4 separate regions of the Homo sapiens genome follow, and regions 1, 3 and 4 are each linked to region 2. The links are contacts of gene promoters, found by promoter capture Hi-C in blood cells and fetal thymus (Javierre and others, 2016). All regions are on one chromosome and are shown on one strand. Each heading gives the region's core, a stretch centred on a gene start or on the middle of the fragment in contact. The rest is flanking DNA. Distances are from core to core; before and after follow the strand shown.

Region 1 (3,214 bases), core at 511-3,010, 260 kb after region 2:
GGAGGAGGAGGGCTCAGCCCCCCGCCCGTCCAGCCGCCCCGTCCGGGAGGGAGGTGGGGGGGTCAGCCCCCCGCCCGGCCAGCCGTCCTGTCCGGGAGGGAGGTGGGGGGGGTTCAGCCCCCCGCCCGGCTGGCCGCCCCATCCGGGAGGGAGGTGGGGGGCTCAGCTCCCCGCCCGGCCAGCTGCCCCATCCGGGAGGTGAGGGGCACCTCTGCCCAGCCGCCCCTACTGGGAAGTGAGGAGCCCCTCTGCCCGGCCAGCCGCCCCGTCCGGGAGGGAGGTGGGGGGCTCAGCCCCCTGCCCGGCCAGCCGCCCCGTCCGGGAGGGAGGTGGGGGGCTCAGGCCCCCGCCTGGCCAGCCGCCCCGTCCAGGAGGGAGGTGGGGGGGTCAGCCCCCCGCCCGGCCGCCCCGTCCGGGAGGTGAGGGGCGCCTCTGCCCGGCCGCCCCTACTGGGAAGTGAGGAGCCCCTCTGCCCGGCCACCACCCCGTCTGGGAGGTGTACCCAACAGCTCATTGAGAACGGGCCATGATGACGATGGCGGTTTTGTGGAATAGAAAAGGGGGAAAGGTGGGGAAAAGATTGAGAAATCGGATGGTTGCCGTGTCTGTGTAGAAAGAAGTAGACATGGGAGACTTTTCATTTTGTTCTGTACTAAGAAAAATTCTTCTGCCTTGGGATCCTGTTGATCTATGACCTTACCCCCAACCCTGTGCTCTCTGAAACATGTGCTGTGTCCACTCAGGGTTAAATGGATTAAGGGCGGTGCAAGATGTGCTTTGTTAAACAGATGCTTGAAGGCAGCATGCTCGTTAAGAGTCATCACCACTCCCTAATCTCAAGTACCCAGGGACACAAACACTGCAGAAGGCCGCAGGGTCCTCTGCCTAGGAAAACCAGAGACCTTTGTTCACTTGTTTATCTGCTGACCTTCCCTCCACTATTGTCCTATGACCCTGCCAAATCCCCATCTGCGAGAAACACCCAAGAATGATCAATTAGAAAAAAAAAAAAAAAAGAAAGCAGTGAGAGGGAAATCTCCAGGGACAGGAGGGTTGGGGGGTTGAAATAGACTGAATAAGTCTATAATCTATTTAATTATTTAGAGAACACTACTGGTAGTGACAGATCTGAGAGAACAACCAAAAAAAGGTTAAGGTAAATAAAAACCTTTGCAAGCAAAAAAGCAAGGCAATAATTAACTCCAAGAAAAACAAAAAATGTTACTATAAAAGAAAAATACTTGATTAAATAGTTAATAATATTCACATACTTAATTATATAAACACTATTCATTTAACCAGAAATGTGATAAAATTATATTCAAACTATAAGGATAAAGGAAATGGGCAGGAAAGTGATGTAAAAAAAAGCCAAATTTGCACCATAACAGAAAGTCAATTGAGAATAGCTAAAATTAATAAAAAATAACAGTATATCATTTAGAAGTTCAGAGATAAATACCAGAAGAAATAGCTAAAAGTTGAGACCATTTGCCTCTGACGAGCAGCAATGAAGGATGAGGATAAGGGCAAGGATTGCCATTTTTCATTTTAAGCTTTTGAATATTAATTGAATTTTTAGCTATATATGTATAACATTATTTTGATTTAAAATTTAAAAAGTAATTTCTTTTTAAAAAAGGAAGAAATATATTGGGGAAAAAAGACTGCTGACAAAAAGAGAAGAGAAAGAAAAATCAAATATTTATTAAAAGTACCATAATACAGACCCATTTCAAGTAAGGACAAACACACCAACATATTTCTTAGTAGTTTCCTCACAATAGATTATTAAAGCATAGAACAATTATTCATATTCATAAAGAAATGACTTCAAAATAGGTTAAATTGTTTTCCATCTACTCTGTTTAATAAGGCAAGAACAAATGATTCACTTTAGACAAATAGTCTCATCAAAAAAGGGCTAAAATAGTAAAGATTCATCACCTAAAGTGGTAAGCTTTGGATATCTGAAATATAAACATGTTAGTACTCTGATGATGCCAGATAAATGAATTTAGGCAAGAAAACACATTGTTACAAAAAGCCTGGGTTCTAAATCAGGATTACTGAGACACTAACAATTTCAGATTTTTGCCTTCATTCCAAGAAGCACCAACCCAGTTTTCTTTAGACTGCCTGGGCTGGTTTGGGCCAAGATCTAGTCAAAATGTAGTCTGCCAGTGATGTAGGTAAATAAGATAGAGGGATGAAGAAAAATTTAGCATCCCAGCCAGCTGAATATCGAGTTCGCGGATGCACCGATGTCAGAGCATGTTCCATGCAGTCAGTGACCAGGTTCAGGTTTGTGCTACAATTCAACAGCCCTTCCTTCATGATATTGTAAACTGTATACAAAAAAAGAAATGGTGGTCAACAATCTTATTCCTTATATTTTTAAGATCATGCAGTCACAGAAGTCTCACCACATCTAATTTCTACAAAATAGAATGATCTAGAATGTGCATCCCAATATGATAGCCACTAGCCACATGTAGCTATTGAGCACTTAAACAATAGCTAATGCACTGGAATAAAAACTAAATTTTGGATTTTATTTAATTTTAATTTTAAAACTCAATCATTTTTCTTTTTTTGTTTGGTTGTTTTTTGGGGTTTCTTTTGAGACAGGGTCTTGCTCTGTCACCCAGGTTGGAGTGTAGTGGTACAATCTCAGCTCACTGCAACCTCTGCCTCCCAGGCTCGTGATCCTCCCTCCTCAGCTTCCCACATAGCTGGGACTACAGGTTCGCATCCCCATGCCCAGCTAATTTTGTTTATTTTTTGTAGACACAAGGTCTCACTATGTTGCCCAGGCTGGTCTTGAATTCCTGGGCTCAAGCGATCCTCCCACATCAGCCTCCCAAAGTGCTGGAATTATAGGTGTGAGGCACCACGCCTGGCCTCAAAACTCAATTCTGATGGCTGGGTGCAGTGGCTCATGCCTGTAATCCCAGCACTTTGGGAGGCCGAGGTGGGTGGATAATTTGGGGTCAGGAGTTCGAGACCGGCATGGCCAACATGGTGAAACCCCATGTCTACTAAAAATACAAAAATTAGCCAGGCTTGGTGGTGCATGCCTGTAGTCCCAGTTACTCAGGAAGCTGAGACAAGAGAATTGCTTGAACCCGGGAGGCAGAGGTTGCAGTGAGCCAAGATCACGCCACTGCACTCCAGCCTGGGTGACAGAGCGAGACTCTGTCTCAAAAAAAAA
Region 2 (3,449 bases), core at 658-3,157:
TGACAAATGGAGACAGTTGTATAACCACTACCACAATCAGGATATAGACCATTTCTGTAACCCCAAAAAGTTCCCTCTTGCCCCTTCCATGGTCTAGAAATGTTAATGGGGGAAAAAGGAAGGTGATTTAGGAGTCAAAGTAGAGGAAGACTAATACGCTCTGGTTGCTTCAGTTTTGCCTAGAAAGCAGGAGATTAGAAAATCCCAGCTGACTTGGATGTGTATTTCATATCTTGTTAATTTAGGCTGACCCACTGGCTCCAGTTTGCCTGGGACTTTCCTAGTTTTAACACTCAAATTCCCATGTCCAGAGAACCCCACTGTGTCCCACAGGCGGATCAGTACAGTTGGTTGCCCTAGCTGTGATGTTCATGTCATTGTTCTTACACCTGAGAGTGCCATCTCATTTTAGAGTCACTTTTCTCGTGAGTAAGCACATAGTAGGCACTCAGTTGACTGAATGGGTGGACATGCAGGTAAACCCCAGATGGCTGCAGATTCCTGGCCTAGAGAACATGAGACTTGGGTTTTGGTGCCAGCTCTGCCAGGTTTGCAGTGGTGTGACCCTGGAAAAGTGGTTTTCTCACTCTAGATCTGTTTCCTCCACTGGTAAATAGGTGATATTTGTCACTTCTGCCTCTAGGACATGGATACTGCTCCACCTACACATAGCATTATGTTTTGATGTCACTTCCACTCAGCTTTCTCTCTTTTCCTTGCCCCCCTCCACCTTCAAATATATGTAGTAGATCAATAAATTATGTAAAGGCAGGTTGATAATAGAACTGCTGATGTGCCAGGCTTACGCAGAGTGCTTCTGTGAGAGCCATAGAGTTTGGACCTTGCACCAAGCAGCCATAGCTGAGAGTTGGAGAATCAAGTCTCTCTTCAGTTAAGTGTCTATAATTACCTAATTTGTTCTTTCTGCATGCCTGGGAGAGAGGATGGTAGGCAGAGGGGGCTTGCTGTTTTTAGGAATTTTCCTGGCTGGATGAAGGGGTACTTCTTATCTATCAGAGGGAGCTATTACATTAGCTCAGGGTCTTACTCAGTATCCTAGTGCTGACGAATTAAAATTAGAAACTTCAGAACTTGGGCTGCAACTTTTGGCAAACTTAGGGAGCTGCATTCTGTTCCTGGTTCTGCCATGCACTAGCATGGAACTGTGGGCACATTGTGTAACCTCTCTGAGTCTGGTGTTTGTTCCTAGTTTTCCATTTTAATGGAGTATCTGTATTGCCTTCCTCGGGGTGGTGCTATTCAGTGAGGCAATGCAAGGGGGAGTTCAATGAAACTGGGACATCTATACACATGTGAGGTATTATTACTAATCACTTTAATCTTTGGGTCTCTATGATAGGGTCTGATTCATGGGGGAAGGGAAGTGGAGAAGAATTTGGGGATTTTGTCTGCTTAGCTCTCCAAGTAATCTCATTAACATCCCCTGACTCCCGATAAGATAGGAAGAGTAGGTATGAGGGAGGTACTGTTTTTTTGCTAGGAAGACACTCTTTGTAAAGACGTGTCTCGCCATGTTGCCTAGGCTGGTCTCGAACTCCTGGGCTCAAGTGATCCTCCCGCCTTGGCCTCCCAAAGTGCTGGGAGTATAGGCATGAGCAACCGCACTTGGCCCTACCTGTCCTTGACAAAATTCCTGACTTCTCTTTGGGAAATATTTTCCTTGGCTATAAATTCCATTCTTCCAGCTTTCATTTCCAAATTTGGGAGACAATGGAGCAAGAACCCTCCTTTAGTTAAGCCTCTCAGCTAACGCCAGCCAGATACCCTTTCCTACCTAGAGGGAGCTTGAGTGTCTCCCTCTGGGGCTTCAGGCCTGTGAAGGGTTAAGTGAGCCACACCCTCAGCAGGAACAGTCTGGACTTTGTGCTGATCAGCCATCTCCGGCCTCTCCTGGTTTGACTGGCACAGGGAGCCTGGGCTGGAAGAGGCAGCAAAAGGGAAAATCAGAAGAGTGGACACTGGCAAGAGGAGGGCAGCCTTTTTCCCAGCTTCCTTGCACCATGGACAGCTCCCATTAAGCCACCTCTCCATCCTGGGGCCAGGACTCTTATGCCCCATTCCTGTCAAATTGAGATTTCATCCACCATTCTCCAAGGACAGTGAAGTTATACCCTAGTTCCAGTGTTGGGTGAGTCCTGCCTTGACCTGTCACTGCTTCTCTTTAACACCTTGGGGCGCCCCATCTGGGGCCTCTTGCCTTTTTCCCTTCCCCACCCTCAACCAGTCACATTCCCACTCCCTTCAAATCCAAATCCAAAGAAGATGACTGCTCCCAACCCACCTTCTGCTTCTCACCCTTCCCTGCCAAGTTAGTTAAAAGACTTAGCTTTTTGTAAAATCTAGAAAATACAAAAATAGTATCTACTTCATGGGGATATTGTAAGCACTAAATGAATTAGTGTATGTACAGTGCTTAGAGCCCTGCCCAGTTCGTGGTAAACGCTGCATGATTCCTAGAGACTGCTATTATTGATATTCTTATTGCTTCCTCAGTTGTGTCCTTCTGGTAAGTGACAAGTGCTCTCTTTTCCTAGAGCTTGGGGAAAGCCAAGTGAAGGGAGAAGGAAGCCTGTGCCCCTTCTTGCCCCACTTCCGTTCCTCCTTCCTCCGCTCCTCCACCCGGGTTCAGAGATGCAATAGCATAGGAGGATGTGTCTCTTTCATTCCTGTTCAGGAGTGGCCTTGACCATTGTACTAATAATCCTGTCCTGTGCCTGGCCACTCTGCCTACTCAGTCTCACAGGAAAGACTGAGGAGGGCCAGGTTTCCTCCTTAGGGAACACCTGCCATGTGCCTACTGCATGGGGGCCAAGCCCCACCACCCTCCCTGTAGTTCCAACTGTGCTCCTCCTTGCCCACTCCCGCAAGAAGCTAGGTGTGTCCCTCTGGGGCAAAGTCCATGCCAGAAGTTTACAGGAGTGGGTGTAAAAGCTAGAGATGGAAAAATAGAGACAGACATGTAGCACATCCAGAGGTCCTGACAACTGCCTGTTTGTTGGGGAAGCAAACCCCACTTTCATTTTCTTTGGGAAATTCCAATCTCTTATGGAGGAATCCTGCCTCTATCCTCTATAATTCTGCCTTGTCAAGTTCCCATTTTAAAAATGAAGCTCACTGTAGCAATGACAGGGAAGGAGAGACCTTTGGAAGAACTTCTGAAATGGTTATGGGTAGGTTGGGTGTCTTTAATAGGGGCTGTGAGAGGTAAGGTGTTGAGAAGAAGCACTGGGGGTAGATGGGGAGTCTGGACCCTGGCCAGGGCCCATTGTAGGAGAGAGAGGGCTTTCTGTACCTGGCGGCAGCACAAGTCTTTGCTTACACTTTCCTCCTCAGCCCTCTCTCCTTCAGTCACAACTCTGCTCCCCCAGTTGTAGCCCACTGGGTGCCTGCCTTCCCCTGGTGGTCAGAGGAAGGTGTTCCTGTTCCAC
Region 3 (3,359 bases), core at 746-3,245, 330 kb after region 2:
AGAGCGAGACTCCGCCTCAAAAAATAAATAAATGTTGACTGGTTTAGCTAATTCAGGTACAGCAAATATTTGTTGAGTTCTTTTGTAGGGCTGTGGGAAGATATGGGAGGCTTTTCATTAACACAACACTGATTTTACATTCTACTTTTCAAAAATACAGTTGTACAAAGCATGGTTTAAGGTGGGGTCCCAGACACCTAGAATAAATAAGCTTAGAATATCCAAGAAGTGCCAGGGGCGGTAGTTCACGCCTGTAATCCCAGCACTTTGGGAGGCCGAGGCAGGCGGATCACCTGAAGTCAGGAGGAGACCAGCCTGGCCAACATGGAGAAAGCCCGTCTCTACTAAAAATACAAAAAATAGACTGGCGTGGTGGCGCATGCCTGTAATCCCAGCTACCCGGGAGGCTGAGGCAGGAGAATCGCTTGACCCGGGAAGGGGAGGTTGCAGTGAGCCGAGATCGTGCCTTTGCACCCCAGCCTGGGCAATAAAAGTGAGACTGTCCCAAAAACAAAACAAACAGGCTGGGCATGGTGGCTCACGCCTGTAATCCCAGTAGTTTGGGAGGCCGAGGCAGGCGGATTACCTGAGGTCAGGAGTTCAAGACCAGCCTGGCCAACATGGTGAAACCCGTCTCTACTAAAAATAAAAAATTAGCCGGGGGTGGTGGCACACACCTGTAATCCCAGCTACTCGGGAGGCTGAGGCGGGACAACTGCTTGAGCCCTGGAGGCGGAGATTGCAGTGAGCCGAGATCGTGCCACTGCACTCTAGCCTGGCCGACAGAGCGACTCAAAAAAAAAAAAAAAAAAATCCAAGAAGTGCCCAAAATAGCAAGCAAAGGAATTGTATATGTGCCTATGTTCTTTTTTTCTGGGAAGGAGAATCTGCAGCTTTATAATTTCAACATCGGCTAAATTGTCGTGAACCTAAAACAATCAAAAGGGCCGGAATCTATTTAAAGAGTTTATTCAAGGGCAGTGTGAGGATGGACCAACCAGAAAACCTCCAAAGAATGGAGTCAGCCTTCAGAAGTAGAGAAGTTACGATTTCATTTATTTAGGGAGACAGAGGAGTTTTTAGCTGGATTACGTTATCCATACAAGGTTGGAACATAATTACAGAATTTGGTTACAAGAAGTGTTTTTTTTGGGGGGGGGGCGGGGGTACAGCTAACATTGTTTTACGAAGAGTTTAACACGCATGAGTTGCTGTCATCTGGTGACATCGTTTGAGTCTCTCTAGTCATTGAACAGAACAAGAAAAATCGAATTAAATTTATAATCTGAACTGAAGTTATATGTGACCCATCACATCTCTCAAGTTTTAAAATGGGTTTTTTTGTTGTTGTTGATGGGGGGGGAGAGGGTCCAGCAGCTTTTAAATGTTTTCACATCGTGTGTTCCAAAAATAACTGGTTAGCCTAAGTCACTTCCACCCTCCAATGTTGTGAATGCAGTCTCTAGCATTCGCTATTTAATGTCTTCTTCCTGCACTATTTGAGAAATCGCGAGGTCGACTTAATACCGCAGTCGCCACTTCGCGGACCGGAGGGCGGAGTCTGCTTAGTTCTGAGGACTGCGTGGGTCCGCGCAGAGAGCTCCTGCTAGGCCTGCGCGTCCCGTTCTAAATTCTTACCCTTTAGTCCTTGTCACCACCCCCGCCGTGGGAACGGCCTGACAGTCACTCGTCAAAGGAAGTGGCTGCCGGCAGCTCTTGACCCGGAATCGGATCCTAGTCCCACCCCCTCCGCTCCAGGCTTCCTTCTGCAACAGGCGTGGGTCACGCTCTCGCTCGGTCTTTCTGCCGCCATCTTGGTTCCGCGTTCCCTGCACAGTAAGTACTTTCTGTGCCGCTACTGTCTATCCGCAGCCATCCGCCTTTCTTTCGGGCTAAGCCGCCCCGGGGACTGAGAGTTAAGGAGAGTTGGAGGCTTTACTGGGCCACAGGGTTCCTACTCGCCCCTGGGCCTCCGGACAAAATGGGGTCTGCGGTTGGTGTCCTGGCAAAAGCAGGGTAGAAGGGCTGCGGGGCGGGCCCAGAATCCGAGCCTGCAGAGATGGGAGCAGTTGCAGTGTTGAGGGCGGAAGAGGAGTGCGTCTTGTTTTGGGAACTGCTTCACAGGATCCAGAAAAGGGTAAGGGGTCACAGCCTTAGAACCTGTAACACCGTTCTCCCTGTGACAAGCAAGTGTTGGACTTAAAACACCGTCTTTCCCCTCCTGGTACCCCAAAGTCGGCAAACGTAGTCCAGGAGGCCCCAGCCCAGCCAGTGTGAGTATTAGGAGTGGAGGGGGTTCACAGTAGCGTCTGAAGTCTCCCATGATCGAGAGCCAGCCCGGGATCCTCTCCCTCGGGTTGAGAATGCAGTGGGAATTGCTGGCCTTGATAGAGGCGTGAGGGTCACATCATATTTACCTCTTATTCCCAGGTGCTTTGGGGAAGGTTGTCACCAAACACCCTCACGATTTTTTTCTAACAGCCCTCCTCGGAGTTTTTAAGAATACTTATCTCCGGGTTGGGCAAGTGAATGTATCCCAATCAATTTAGGCCTCCTTTTTATTCCCTTCCTTCAGAAATGCCCGGCGAAGCCACAGAAACCGTCCCTGCTACAGAGCAGGAGTTGCCGCAGCCCCAGGCTGAGACAGGTAGGTTTCCCTACCCTCCTTGCCATTAATTAAAATTAACCCTAAAGCCATTTGGTGGGCAAAATGACCAAGGGGAAATACACTTTTTAGGAGGATGGGGTTGCAGCTTTACCAAGGAGGATAGACCGTAAAATTACTATCCTGGAGATACTTCTTTAGGGATTTGGAGTAAAAATAATATTTTTAAGATTCGTGGACGTTAAAAGTACCCTAGCTTGCTTTCTATGTTATGCCTGTCGCCTCAAAAGAAGCTCTCCTGTGGAACCCCCACCTCACATAGGAAAACTCAGCAGGGAATGGGCTCAGTGATTCTTACCTATTGGAACTAGATGACACAGGCCAAGGAGCCCGGAGCATTTGTGAAACTCCAGCCAGCAAGTTGCATCAAGGTTTTAGTTAGCAGAGCTTGGCATTGTGCCTTTATCACATGTCTGGATGAGATGTGTGCTGGTGGTAAATGTGTCCTACTGGGCCCCAGAGTCGTCCTAGGTCGGATAACTTGTTTATGGGTTGGTGGTGCTGAGATACTTCTAGTGTGCTGGAATAGTTCCTGCATCATTGTGTGAAACCCAGGATTGAAATAAATCCTTTTATCCTCAGCGTCGAAATTAACGACTGTGAAGGCTAATTTTAAATTCTGGTTAAAACATATCTCTGTAGAAAACTTAGGAGGAGGTAATGAAAAGTTCTTAAAATGATAGCCTTTCTGAGT
Region 4 (3,477 bases), core at 937-3,436, 390 kb after region 2:
AGGAGTCACCACGCCCGGCCTGCGAAACCCCATCTTGACAAAAAAATAGCTGGGTGTGGTGGCATGTTCTTGTAATCCCAACTACTCTGGAAGCTGAGGTGGGAAGATCACTTGAGCCTGGGCCATTGGGGATGCAGTGAGCCAAGATTGCACCACGAACTTTTCTGTAGACAAGTGTCTCAAAAGCCGGGCACGGTGGCTCACGCCTGTAATCCTAGCACTTTGGGAGGCTGAGGCGGGAGGATCGCCTGAGATCAGGAGTTCAAAACTAGCCTGGCCAACATGGTGAAACCCTGTCTCTACTAATAATCCAAAAAAATCAGCCAGGCGTGGTGGTACATGCCTGTAACCCCAGCTACTCAGGAGGCTGAGGCAGGAGAATCGCTTGAACCCAGGAGGCAGAGGTTGCAGTCAGCCCAGATTGTACCATTGCACTCCATCCTGGGCTGCAAGTGAAACTCCATCTCAAAACAAAAAGACGGTCTTGCCCAGGCTGGAGTGCAGTGGTGCAATCATATCTCAAGCACCACACCTGGTGGACTTTATTCATATATTTTGTAGAGATGGGTCTCCATGTTTCCCAAGCTGGTCTCGAACTCCTAGGCTCAAGTGATATGCCTGCCTTGGCCTCCACAAGTGCCAGTATTAAGGTGTGTGTCACTGTGTGTCACCTGGCTATAATTTTAAATATTTTGTGTTCAAACATTTGAACAGGTTTTCATCAGTCCTTATTGCTTAGGTATCAGACCTTGTGCGTTGTACCTCATCTCTAATTCAAAGCTTCTGTTAAGAACATTTTCTGGGGCGGGCAAGGTGGCTCAATTCTGTAATCACACCATTGAGGCGCCACTGCACTCCAGCCTGGGCGGCAGAGCGAGACTGTCTCAAAAAATGTTCTGGGCTGGGCGTGGTGACTCATGCCTGGCCAACATGGCAAAACCCCCTCTCAAAAAAAAAAAATGATCAATTTAAGATTGTGAGTGAAATTTTTTAAGTTTAGATGAATGGGTATAGCATATTTTTTGTCCATATTGATAGGTTGTGATATTGGTGCTATACGGTTCCCTAAACTTAGCTATTTCCAAGGAGGGCAGATTGAGGGTGATTGCTACAGTAGCATGAAGGTTTTCTCCCCCATTTTAGTTCTAAGCTAATTGAAATTTCTCCTGTTTAGCAGGAATTCTTTTGAGAAATTTTTGAAAATACAATTTTTTATTTGTGGATCACCCAGCATTGTACCAAATAGGAAAAGATGTAGGCTAGGTAGGGAGGAGGCTGGCACTTTGTGAAAAACTTAACATCTAGTTGCTTTGATAGTGATTAAATAAATTGATAACTAAGGGTGTAATAGGGAATACAGAGTAGGACTTCCTGGTCGAATCTAGCAGCCTGTGCAAATAAGAGGACAACTGAAATGGAGTTCTAGGGTGGCAGTAGGATGGAGAATTTTAACAGTGAATTCTAAGGATTTTTGTAAAGGCCTGTTCTAACCCCTACATTCTGTCATCCTTGAGCACTTGAACCTTGAACAACATGGGTTTGAACCCCTTTTAGGTGGATTTTTTCCAACCAAATGCAGGTCAAAAATACAGTATTTGTAAAATGCCAAACCCATGAATACGGAGGGTTCTGTCTGATTTTGGTATGCTTGGTGGTGGAGGGGTCATGAAACCACTCCTCTGGAATATACCAAGGGACAATTGTGTTTTTTTGTTTTTTGTTTTTTTGAGACAGAGTCTCGCTCTGTCGCTGAGGCTGGAGTGCAGTGGCACAATTTCGGCTCACTGCAATCTCTGAATTCCCAGGTTCAAGCAATTCTCCTGCCTCAGCCTTCCGAGTAGCTGGGACTACAGGCGTGTGCCACCATGCCCAGCTAATTTTTATATTTTTACTAGAGATGGGGTTTCACCATGTTGGCCAGGCTGATCTGTGGGTTTCATTTAAACATTGACCACAATTAAATGTTGAATGTCTATTCCTGCTAGTAAAAAGCGTCGTATATCGCCACCAAATATCTTTCCCTCAACACAGTATGGTGAAATACATTTCAGAAATACCATAGCATGAGTAATGTTTTGCAGGTGGATTTGGAGGTAAAGAAACAAGTTTGTGCAGTAATTCAAGTGGTAAGAGATGAAGGGCTAAATTTAGGCAATGGTAATGGGATCTGGAATCCAGGTATATGTAGGTGGTCAAATAAGGCTTGGTGACAACTCATTTAAGATATTGCCAGGCTTGGCCGGGTGCGGTGGCTCACGCTTGTAATCCCAGCACTTTGGGAGGCCGAGGCGGGCAGATCATGAGGTTAGGAGTTGGAGACCAGCCTGGCCAACACAGTGAAATGCTGTCTCTACTAAAAATACAAAAATTAGCTGGGCATGGTGGCATGCGCCTGTAATCCCAGCTACTCAGGAGGCTGAGGCAGGAGAATTGCTTGAACCCAGGAGGTGGAGGTTGCAGTGAGCTGAGATCAAGCCACTGCACTCCAGCCCACGGGACAGAACTAGACTCCATCTCAAAAAGAAAAAAATAATGATATTGCCAGGCTTGCTTTGCTCTTCCCAGATAGTCTAAAGTGACAAATCATTTGTTCGCAAGTTGTATTGTCAGTCTGGGTAATTTCATTGTTCATGTGAAGAACTTATCCAGAACTCACTCCTAAATTATTTATTTATTTATTTATTTAGACACGGAGTCACTTTTTGACATGGAGGCATGATCTCGGCTCACTGCAGCCTGTTTCCCAGGTTCAAGCGATCCTTCTGCCTCAGCTCTCTGAGTAGCTGGGATTACAGCCATGTGCCACCACTCCTGGCTAATTTTTGTATTTTTAGTAGAGATGGGGTTTCACCTGGTTGGCCAAGCTGGTCTCAAACGCCTGACCTCAAGTGATCCACCCACCTCAGCCTCCCAAAGTGCTGGGATTACAGGATTGAGCCATTGTGCCAGGCCAATCCTGAATTTCTTTTCTTTTCTTTTTTTTTTTTTTTTTTGAGACGGAGTTTTGCTCTTGTTGCCCAGGCTGGAGTGCAGTGGCGTAATCTCAGCTCACTGCAACCTCCATCTCCCAGGTTCAAGAGATTCTCCTGCCTCAGCCTTCCCAAGTAGCTGGGATTATAGGCATGCGCCACCAAGCCCAGCTAATATTGTATTTTTAGTAGAGATGGGGTTTCTCTGTGTGGGTCGGGCTGGTCTCAAACTCCCGACCTCAGGTGATCTGCCCACCTTGGCCTCCCAAAGTGCTGGGATTACAGGCGTGAGCTACCCTGCCCAGCCCCAATCCTAAATTTCTTAATCTCAAATCCAATGGCCTTCAGTTGAGTACTTAGCAACCCATTCCCATTATGTATCTCATCATCATGAGTGAAAGAACTGCAAAGCTGCTTATACTACAACTAAGTGTCATGCAGTCTAACTGCCCCTCAACCACTGTTCCTTCTCTGGCCTCACAGCTAATTAGCCTTTATAGCTTTAGTT

The links. The method cuts DNA at HindIII sites, captures the fragments that hold promoters and counts their contacts. A CHiCAGO score of 5 or more calls a contact.
Region 1: a fragment that was not itself captured here is called in contact with the fragment with the promoter of MYO1A in region 2 in 2 of 17 cell types (M1 macrophages and M2 macrophages); the score reaches 6.6 in M1 macrophages.
Region 3: a contact is called between a fragment that was not itself captured here and the fragment with the promoter of MYO1A in region 2, in 1 of 17 cell types (M2 macrophages). The highest score is 6.1, in M2 macrophages.
Region 4: a fragment that was not itself captured here is called in contact with the fragment with the promoter of MYO1A in region 2 in 1 of 17 cell types (M2 macrophages); the score reaches 5.0 in M2 macrophages.

Annotation. Positions count from the first base shown.
Region 1 is chr12:56,786,259-56,789,472 of GRCh38, reverse strand. HSD17B6 (hydroxysteroid 17-beta dehydrogenase 6) reads right to left here. Exons shown (of 5, transcript NM_003725.4): 5 at 1,683-2,348. The coding sequence ends at 2,131. Among named protein-coding and RNA genes, the nearest start is that of HSD17B6, 25 kb to the right of the region's middle. The HindIII fragment of the contact is 404 bases long and covers 1,559-1,962 here.
Region 2 is chr12:57,048,587-57,052,035 of GRCh38, reverse strand. It overlaps MYO1A (myosin IA), which reads left to right and starts at 1,907. Exons shown (of 28, transcript NM_005379.4): 1 at 1,907-2,149. The HindIII fragment of the contact is 12,080 bases long and covers 1-3,449 here.
Region 3 is chr12:56,723,740-56,727,098 of GRCh38, reverse strand. It overlaps NACA (nascent polypeptide associated complex subunit alpha), which reads left to right and starts at 1,800. Exons shown (of 9, transcript NM_001365896.1): 1 at 1,800-1,836; 2 at 2,576-2,647. The coding sequence starts at 2,578. RefSeq lists enhancers at 1,725-1,854, 1,945-1,994, 3,054-3,173. The HindIII fragment of the contact is 3,564 bases long and covers 214-3,359 here.
Region 4 is chr12:56,659,147-56,662,623 of GRCh38, reverse strand. No RefSeq gene overlaps it. Among named protein-coding and RNA genes, the nearest start is that of ATP5F1B, 15 kb to the right of the region's middle. RefSeq lists silencers at 792-841, 1,953-2,153. The HindIII fragment of the contact is 2,808 bases long and covers 783-3,477 here.